3 separate regions of the Homo sapiens genome follow, and regions 1 and 2 are each linked to region 3. The links are contacts of gene promoters, found by promoter capture Hi-C in human tissues and cell types (Jung and others, 2019). All regions are on one chromosome and are shown on one strand. Each heading gives the region's core, a stretch centred on a gene start or on the middle of the fragment in contact. The rest is flanking DNA. Distances are from core to core; before and after follow the strand shown. Region 1 holds the start of LOC102723396 (a long non-coding RNA gene). Region 2 has its middle 72 kb from the start of GP2. Region 3 holds the start of KNOP1 (lysine rich nucleolar protein 1).

Region 1 (2,864 bases), core at 89-2,588, 520 kb before region 3:
TGCACTGTTTCTATTATGGATAGGAATTTTGTGCAATTTACTAAGAAACGTTCTAATGTAGGAGTGCTGATTAGAAAGGAGGGAGGGTGTTGTTATGAATGCTTGGTTATCAGTATTCTTATGTGACTGCTATGCAAGAAAGTCCTATATCCTGTTTATCCAGCCTTGGAACTGTACTCTTTGAATATTATTACCATTACTACTATTAATAATAGCTACTCAATCCACCACTTACAATGTGCCAGATCCACTTTAAATCCAAATTAAAATTCAGTGCAAGCTTGAGTGCCTTCAGAGACCAAGCAAACTTGGAAAATGACTTAAGCAGACTGGGCTGGGGATCAATAGGGAGAAGTGGGGTCTGTGGTGAATGGCAGGTTGCATTCCTCATCTACAGGAGACAGCTGCCCCTCAGCTAAAGCCAAATATTGCTGTGAGAAGATGAGGGGATGGTGCTGCCATTTCTGATCTTTTTTCAGAAGTCAGAAATATGGATTTTAATGTGAAATTCCCAGAGTTTTAACTGCTGTCTGCCGACAGTCTGTGTGCTGCCTGTGTGCAAGCCTCCATCTCGCATCCTCTATCAAAAGCCTCTAGGGAAAACTGGTCCGTGAGCAGGGGCTGTGTTTACTTTGTTGATTGTGGGCCGGGGCGGGGGGAAGGAAAAATTGCATGGAGCCATTGTAGAAGCTGTAAGAGCCCATTTCTCATTTTTATTTAAAATTTCATGGAGGTAATTTCAGAGAACAATGAAATATCATCGGAAGTCTGGCTGGAGAGGAGAGACACGTGAAGGAGAATGATAGAATGACTGGCGGCACTAATAAGGAGGGCTAGGATAGACCAGCCAGAGTCATGAAGAAAATCATCCTCTTCCCCCAGTCCCCAGCTTGATGGGAAGGGGGCTACATGCCCCTGGAGATCTGCAAAGAGGGTGCCAGGCTGCCCAAGCCAGAAGCCCCAGATGTCTCCATGCTAGAGTGCAGTGGGGTGATTCTAGCTCACTGCAGCCTCAAATTTCTGGGCTCAAGTGAACCTCCCACCTTGGCATCCCTGGTAGCTAAGACAACACACGTGTACCACCCCTCTAGGCTGACATTTTTATTTTTATTTTTGTAGAGACAGGGGTCTCGCTATGTTGCCCAGGCTGGTCTCAAACGCCTGGGCACAAGCAATCCTTCTGCCTCAGCCTCCCAAAATTCTGGGATTACAGGCATGAGCCACCACACCTGGCCAAACCTGACTTCTATGTGACAGGGTGAAGAAGGCTTATGTTCTTCTCATATCAATTTAATTATCATAACTCAGGGAAGTCTTATGGCCAAGTTCCAACATCTTGATATTCCCTCCCCATAATACCCTAAACTTCCCCCGTGTAACATTCATCACACATATCTCTTATCTCTTTACGTCAGAACCACTTTCCTTCATGAATATGAGTGCAGGAATTTCATCTGTCTTGTTCACCACTGTCTCCTAGCACCCACAGTGCTTGGCACATAGTAGGGGCTCGATAAATATTGACTTGTGAAGGAACAAGTGAATGAAGAGTCCTTTGACCTTAGGCATGGGTTATTTAATCACAGAATGCCTCGCCTGTGAAACAGGGGTAACAGTAGTACCTCTAAGAATTGCTATCTTCTTTGTGCTACGACCCACAGAAAATTTGTACTCTGTATTTCATCTGTTCTCCACAATATGCATAAGAAGTTGGGAGTATTTTTTATCCCAACATTATATAGTTGGGCTTAGAGTAGTTAAATGACTTGCCCAAGGTCACACAGCCTGGACGTGACACAACGGAGAGATTCCAACCCAGGTCTGTCTGAGTCTTTATCTCCTTCCCCACAGGAGTTTAGAGAGGGAGAAAAGCCATTCTATCAGACCGGTGGAAATCAAAGTAAGCTTCATAAAGGAGATGCATTTATCCTGGGTTTTAAGGATGGATGAGAATATGGGAGGCAGAGGAAGCAGAGAAAGCATTCTAGGTGGAAGGAATAACTCAGGCAAAAGCTCAGAAATAGCAGGAAACGGCAGATTGATTCAAGGAATGGCTTGTGAATCATTTAAGATAAAGGGGTGGGGAGGTCCTGAGAAAGGCTGAATTCATATCATAAAAATGAGTTCACTCATCCTCTCAACAGTTATGAACTGAGTGCCTGCCAGGTGAGGAAGACATCGACCAAAGCATCCTCATGTCCTGTCCTCAGGAAGCATACTGTCCAGTGCTCTGCCACACTGACTCTTTGCTGCAAGGACCACATGAAGAAGTAGGAAAGAAATTACTTTGAAAAGCTCAACTGTGCTATTTCAATACTCTCCTCTGTTCTGCTCTATCTGTTAGACTCTTCATAGTAATTAAGTAAAAGCTCCAGTTCAAATTGACATGGCTTTTACAGAAGGAGAATTCATTGACTCAGGTAAGAGAAAAATTGGAGAGCTGTCTGGCCTTGTTGGTTCCAGAATTTTTCCAAGTCATCAAGATAGGACAAACAACAACTCTCCAGCCCTCCTGTGTGTGTAGTTTCACTCTCCCACAGACTGTTGTCTTTCAACAGCCCCAGATCTCACACCTTCTCAGCTCCACATCACACTGAGATAAAAGCTTCTCTTCCCCAACAGTTGAACTTGAGTTCAGTTTTCATTGGCCAGAAAGTGTCCGTGCACTCATCTTAGAACCAATCCCTACACCCACAAGAATAGGATAAGGATAGGATAAGCTAAATGACTTAAACTAATCAGGACCCTCCCTTCTCTGGCCTGGCCAAGCAAAAATATGTAAGCAAAGAGTTAAAGAAAAGTGGTTCTTCAAATGCAATTCCAGAAATAATTTTGCTAGGAAAACAGTAAGTTCTGAAAAAAAA
Region 2 (3,152 bases), core at 86-2,585, 540 kb before region 3:
GGCCGCGTAAGGGCGTATGACTGGGTCTTTTCTCGTCGTCTTTTTACCAGGAGGAGGCTTGTAGAAGTACTTAGCAGAGGCAAGCTGATAAGAGTGGGGAGTCACCTGTGGGGGTTGGCAGGTTGGCATTTTGCATACGTTTTCTCACTTCTTTCTCACAACAACTCCGTGAAGTAGGTTTTACCATTATCCCCATCTTACAGCTCCAGGCCCTTTCAATGATGCTGGAAATGATGCTGATTATGCTCGTCATCATGCCAACTGGCACTGTCGCAGACACTGTTATAAGCACTGACTCTTCAAGCATTAAATCATTTAATTCTCACAATCATATCATGGGATATTACAATTATGATGAGTATTATGAGGTATTATGATTCCCATTTTACAGATAAGAAAACTGAGCACCAGGGGAGTTAAATAAGGTCACATAGCTGGTAATGGGAGAAGGCAGGAGTCAAACTCAGGGATCCCTGATTTACTTCAAGGATCAACTAATTATTGCATATCAGCGGCTGACTGTTTTTGTAAATGAAGTTTATTGAAACACTGCCATGACCATTTGTTGACTTAACATCTATGGCTACTTTCATGCTGCATCAGCAGAGTTGAGTAGTTGGAATAGAGACCCTATGGCCCACAAAACCTAAAATATTTACTATCTGGACAATTACAGATAGAGTTTGCCAACCTCTGGTCTAGTTCCAGAGCTGAGGCTCTGAGAAAGCCAAATGTCCTCTCTTTCAGGATGGCTTCTCAAAGCCCAGGTGGAGAGATGGGAAACACTAAGTTCTCGGCCTCAGATGCATCTGTGCTGAAGTCCCTGCTCTGATATATCACCTCTCTGCAGCACCTTGAGTTCTTCATCTATAAACTTAGGGGTAACCATATCTTTCCCAGCGAGTTGTGTGTAGAGAGGATTAGATGAGATGTCATAAATAAAGTGCAAAGCAAACAGTAGGGACACAACAGTGCCCAGAAATCACCAATGTCACAGGCACCTCGCCTACATCCCAAAAGAAGAGAAATGTCAGCTCCATCCTCCACCGTCCAAGGAGAAATAACACCTGTTATTCCATTGAAGTGCAAAACAGTTCCCATCTATTTCACATTTGCAGGCCATCATCAGTGTGCTGTTTCAGCTTGCCAGATGCAAAGAGAATATGCCAATCTCTAGCACAGCCAGCTGCCTCCCTGGTGGGCAAGGAGGAGGAAGAAGGAAAAGGAAGCCTGGGAGAATAGGAATGGAATCCAGTACTTCCCTGGATAACTGGGGGCCTGCTTGCCTCTTTGGCATTCCTTAGTGTCCAAGTGGCCCCACCTCTGAGTTGGACAATGGGTCTTTTAGAACAGAGAGGTGGAGTTCTCAGAATTCCATGAGCTGATCGCTTCCACAGAATCCTTTAATAATGGAAGCCCTGCATAGGACAAGAAGACCTGGAATCTGCCTGCAAGAGTCATCCCCCATTCCTCTTGGGAACCACCAGGGTGAGACACAATTGTGGGTGCTTTATCAGACTGGCTTCCCTGAATAGCTTCCCAGGGGGGCACATTCAGGAGCCCAGCCACCACCAATAGGAATAGCTAATGTTTATTTAGCACTTACCATCTAACACTCACAATAACCCAATGAGAAAGGTACTATGATGTCCATTTTACAAGTGAGGACACTGAGGCACAGAAAGATAGAAGATGTAAGTCATTGGCAAGAGAGGAGGTGTGCTCTGGAGGAACACAAGCCCTGAGGTCAGACTGATACGGATATAAATCCATGTGACCTTGAAAAAAATTTCATTTCACTTAGCCTCAATTTCCCCATCTATAAAATGGGCACAATTTATGTCTATTTCATTCACCTATTCTGAGTATTTAGTGAAATAACACCTGTGAAGTCTAATATAATCATTTCAATTGGATTTAGAGTAATACTAGCAATTATTATTGCTTTTTGTTTAGATACCAGTTTTTTGTTTGTTTTTGTTGGTTTGTTTGCTTGTTTGCATTACTGGTACCTCTTTCCCTTCCTGGCAATAAATAGTTCTTTATTTTTTTTCCTTGAAGAACCATGGTTCTACCACTTTTAGATGGTTTGGGGGTGGAGGGAGGTATAAAGAGGAGAGGTTCACTTTTAGCTGACATCCACTTTCCCCAGATATGGCCAAGGACAATACTACATCTCCACGACATCCTCAAGTTTCAGATCTGGGCACGTAACCCATATTGGACCAATAAGTTTCAGACTTGAGGCTTTTGATTGAAATGCTGGGCAAGAAATGCTTTTCTTCTGATTGAGGTTGCTAAACTGAGAGATTATAAATTTGGATCTGCAGAGGCCCACCAGAATAAAGCAACACAGAAGAAAATCATATCCCAGAGAGGAAGGGAAGGATTAGATTTACATCTAAATGACATTATTTAGATCCCTGAATCTAGGCAGGCCTGAAGGGAAAACTTGGACCTTTCATTTACAGGGGCCAATAAATTCTCCCTTTCTGCTTCACCCTGTTTGAAAAGCGATTGTTTTATTTCCCAAAGAGTCCTGACTGATATATCTCCTCAAGTAAGCATCTCCAAAAGACAAATGAGGCCACAGTATTCAAGACTTCTCTTTGCAACTTTCCATCGAATGCCAATTCTCTTTTCTTTCTTCCTTTTCATTGCTTTATCACCTTTGACCGCCTCTTCTGTTTTGAGTCACTTTCTCTTGCTCTCTTCCAATTCATCTTTTTCCTACATCTTTGGGGGTGTGTAGACCTCACCTCTGCCTTTGCTTGCTCCACATGTTCTGTAGGTGATGAGGGAGCTGACGTCAAGTCCATGGCACTTGGACCAAGGCAGGCATCAGCAAGCCTCTGTGCAGGGAATGATGCTTAGATAGCTATGCAGAAACAGAGCCAGGCACATGAAACTCATGTCAGAAAGGGTTTGTAACAAGGACTTTAGCTGCCTTCTGCAAAGCTCAGCATTTCTGAACAGCAAGCATATTCTCTTGGCCTCACTAACTAGCCTACTCCTTTAATTGTGGGAGGGGAGTATATTTATATTTGCTCATTAAGTGCTGCTATAATATCTTGTATAGTATGAATGTTTATGTCCCCCCAAAATTCGTATGTTGAAATCCTAACCCCCAAGGAGATGGTATTAGTATGTAG
Region 3 (3,351 bases), core at 750-3,249:
TTTCTAGCACAATGTAAGGTTGGAGAAGGAATTTAAGTACTGGATGGGGTTGAAACAGACAGCTTTGGAGGGCATCTATCAACTGAGTCTACTATTCTCTTCCTTCTCTGTATTCTCCACTTCTTTCGAGTCATCGCATATACTGGTACATTCATTCTTTTTTTCCATTCAATAAACATTTACTGACCTGCACTATCCAATACAGCAGCCACTATCCAAATGTGGCTATTTAAATTTATTAAAATTAAGTCTGGGCTGGGCCTGGTGGCTCAGGCCTGTAATTGTAGCACTTTGGGAGGCCGAGGCAGGTAGATCACCTGAGGTCAGGAGTTCAAGAGCAGCCTGGCCAAAATGGTGAAACCCCTTCTCTACAAAAATAAAAAAATTAGCCAGGAATGATGACGGGTGCCTGTAATCCCAGCTACTCAGGAGATTGAGGTGTGAGAATGCTTGAACCCGGGAGGCGGAGGTTGCAGTGAGCCCAGCCAGTGCCACTGCATTCCAGCCTGGGCGACAGAGCAACATGCCGTCTCAAAAAAAAAAAAAAAAAAAAAATTTGAGTCCAACAAGAAATTCAGTTACTCAATTGCACTAATCACATTTCAAATGCTAACTAACCACACTTTTTTTTTTTTGGGGATGGAGTCTCGCTCTGTCACCCAGGCTGGAGTGCAGTGGCGCAAACTCGGCTCACTGCAACGCCACCTCCCTGGTTCAAGCAATTCCCTTTCCTCAGCCTCCCAAGTAGCTGAGATTATAGGCGCACACCACCACGCCCAGATAATTTTTTTTTTGTATTTTCAGTAGAGACGGGGTTTCACCGCGCTGTTTCAGGCAGCTTAGGTAGTGATGGTGGCCACACGAATGAAAAATCTGAGTCCTTGACCTTGAGGAGCTTATGGTCTAGTGGAGGAAAAAGAAAACATCCCACCCAACATTATTCATTAAGAACTAGCGCTTACGTAGCTCCTTCTGTAAATCGAGCAGTTTGTGTTTTTTTTTCCCCAATAATCCTTTTGCCCTCCTAAAATCAGGCAGTTTGCTAAGCACTTTTTGTGACTATCTGGTTCCATCTTCTTAACACCATCGAAATAGGTGCCATTATTATGCCCACTTTGCAGACAGGGTCATAAGTTAAATAATTTGCCCAACCTAAGTAACAAATACTGAGTAGAGCCACAAAGGAAGATGTGCTCAACTCCGCCTGGGGAGGTTAAGGAAGGTTTGAAGCAAGAAGGGACTAAAACCCGTTTGTCCACACCATGGTTACTGAACGTGTGGGCCACCGACTACCTACGTTAGGATTACCTGGGGTGCTCTTTTAAAAAGTGCAGATTCCCTGCATCCCAATTTGAAGCTCTGTGGGCGGGGCCTGGGAACCTCCGTTTATAACAAGATCCCCACCCCGGCCCCCGCCCCAGCAATTCCTTTCGGTTCACTAACCGAGGTTTAAGAACCAATGGTCCACACCGCATGGTTCTCTTTATTCAGCTTTCCCTCGCCGTTCCCTTGCCTTTAACCTCACTACGGATCGCGATTGGAGTCCGCGCTGCGTAACCTCGGGCCAGCCTCTCCGAGCCTCAGTTTCCCCATGCGTAAAATGCGGAGCCCGGGCCCGCGGAGCCGCTGCCCGGCGGCCCCGCCCGTCAGCCGACAGGCGCACAGTGGGCGCTCCCCAAACGCGGCCCCCGTCCGGCCGCCCGGGTCCCGCCCCTCTCGGCCAGCCCAGGTTTCCTACCCTTGCAGATCTGCTCCCACAGATTCTTGCTTGACGGCTCGGTGACCTGCCACGACGAGACAGGCAGCTCGCGGGACGCGAGAGACACGGTGGGCACCGGCGTCCGGGTGAACGACGAGTCTGTAGAGCAGCTGGGCTTGAGGCGCACTATGTGGCTGGGGATTTGCCGCGGTGCCGCCATGGCCGCGGTTTCCACGGTAACCGCGTTCGCCGGAAGGCCGCGACCCGGAAGAAGCCGGAACCCGAGAGGGTGGGCCGGCGACTCGAAGTGGACTTCCGGGTCACGGCGGAGCTGGCTCTCACGTGGAGGCGGGGAAATTTCGCCCACCGGTGAGTGCCAGGGCGCGTTGCAGGCGGGCCGGCGCGGGGTGTGGAGATTGCACCAGAGGAAGTGCGCGGCGGGGAAGATGGGGAAATGCGGTCCACCCACATCCCTGAATCCGACCCCTCCAGTCGGTGTGCGCCCGCTCCGGCCTGAGGCCGCCGCCTCCAGAAAGTTTTCCCGCCTCAGAGCCGGCCCTGGGACCCCACGTAATCCCTCCCAGTCTGTTGATGCGGAGGCTTGGGCCCATGGGAGCCTTGGAGGTACGGATCTTACTTCCTGGCTCCCGCGCGTCCTGCTGGTGATCCTGCCGGGGGAGTGGGGTGTTGCTGCACAGGCTTTGGAGTCCTGTGGGCGGAATTCCAGTCTCCGTTTTCCACTTGCTGGCTTTGGAACCTAGGGCAAGTGAATTATTGTAGTCTCTGGAGCTTGCGAGGTCGGGTATTCACAAAGATCTTCACAAGGCTGTCCCTGGAATTTAAAAGCGGTTTTGGAGAAAGCGTTTGCGTTTGCAGGAGATGCACTGTAACGTTCTTTTCCTTTCTCCTTGAAAGAGTGAATGCATTTGGTCGCAGGGCTAAAGAGGAGGATGCTATACTTTTCTAAATGGCAAGAGATGGGGAGAGAAGGGGATTAAGAGTTGACCCGCAACCTCCCGGTGGATTCTTTGTTCTTACCAGATCTCTTGGCCACTCCCCTATTCTGAAGTCGTCTTGGCTCTCTTGACTGCTCCCCTATTCTGAAGTCGTCTTGGCTCTCTTGACTGCTCCCCTATTCTGAAGTCGTCTTGGCTCTCCTGACTACACTATTTCAAGGTTTGCACCTTCTTCTTTGCAAGCTCCTTTATCTCTGCCCACTTATTTAAATGCCAATACAATAGTCCCCCTCCCCCATTATCCGCGGGCAGTACGTTCCTAAACCCCCAGTGGATGCCTGAAACCACAGACAGTACCGAACCCTAAATATAACTGTTTTTTCTTGTGTATACTATCTATGAGAAAGTTTATAAATTAGGCACAGTAGGGCCGGGCGTGGTGGCTCATGCCTGTAATCCCAGCACTTTGGGAGGATGAGGCGGGCGGATCACCTGAGGCCAGTAGTTGGAGACCAGCCTGGCCAACATAGTAAAACCCCGTCCCTACTAAAAATACAAAAATTAGCCGGGCGTGGTGGTATGTGCCTGTAATCCCGGCTACTCGGGAGGCTGAGGCGTGAAAATTGCTTGAACCCGGGAGGTGGAGGTTGCAGTGAGCCGAGATGATGCCACTGCACTCCAGCCTGGGCAACAGAG

What was found. The method cuts DNA at HindIII sites, captures the fragments that hold promoters and counts their contacts. A contact is called where the count stands out against the background at its distance.
Region 1: a contact is called between a fragment that was not itself captured here and the fragment with the promoter of KNOP1 in region 3, in 1 of the 25 tissues and cell types used here (aorta).
Region 2: a contact is called between a fragment that was not itself captured here and the fragment with the promoter of KNOP1 in region 3, in 1 of the 25 tissues and cell types used here (H1 embryonic stem cells).

Annotation. Positions count from the first base shown.
Region 1 is chr16:20,231,993-20,234,856 of GRCh38, reverse strand. It overlaps LOC102723396 (a long non-coding RNA gene), which reads left to right and starts at 2,340. Exons shown (of 3, transcript XR_429682.3): 1 at 2,340-2,420. The HindIII fragment of the contact is 3,498 bases long and covers 1-2,864 here.
Region 2 is chr16:20,253,831-20,256,982 of GRCh38, reverse strand. No RefSeq gene overlaps it. Among named protein-coding and RNA genes, the nearest start is that of GP2, 72 kb to the left of the region's middle. The HindIII fragment of the contact is 4,828 bases long and covers 1-3,152 here.
Region 3 is chr16:19,716,875-19,720,225 of GRCh38, reverse strand. It overlaps KNOP1 (lysine rich nucleolar protein 1), which reads left to right and starts at 1,999. Exons shown (of 5, transcript NM_001012991.3): 1 at 1,999-2,068. It overlaps IQCK (IQ motif containing K), which reads right to left and starts at 1,955. Exons shown (of 9, transcript NM_153208.3): 1 at 1,739-1,955. The coding sequence starts at 1,919. RefSeq lists an enhancer at 1,746-2,075. The HindIII fragment of the contact is 15,091 bases long and covers 1-3,351 here.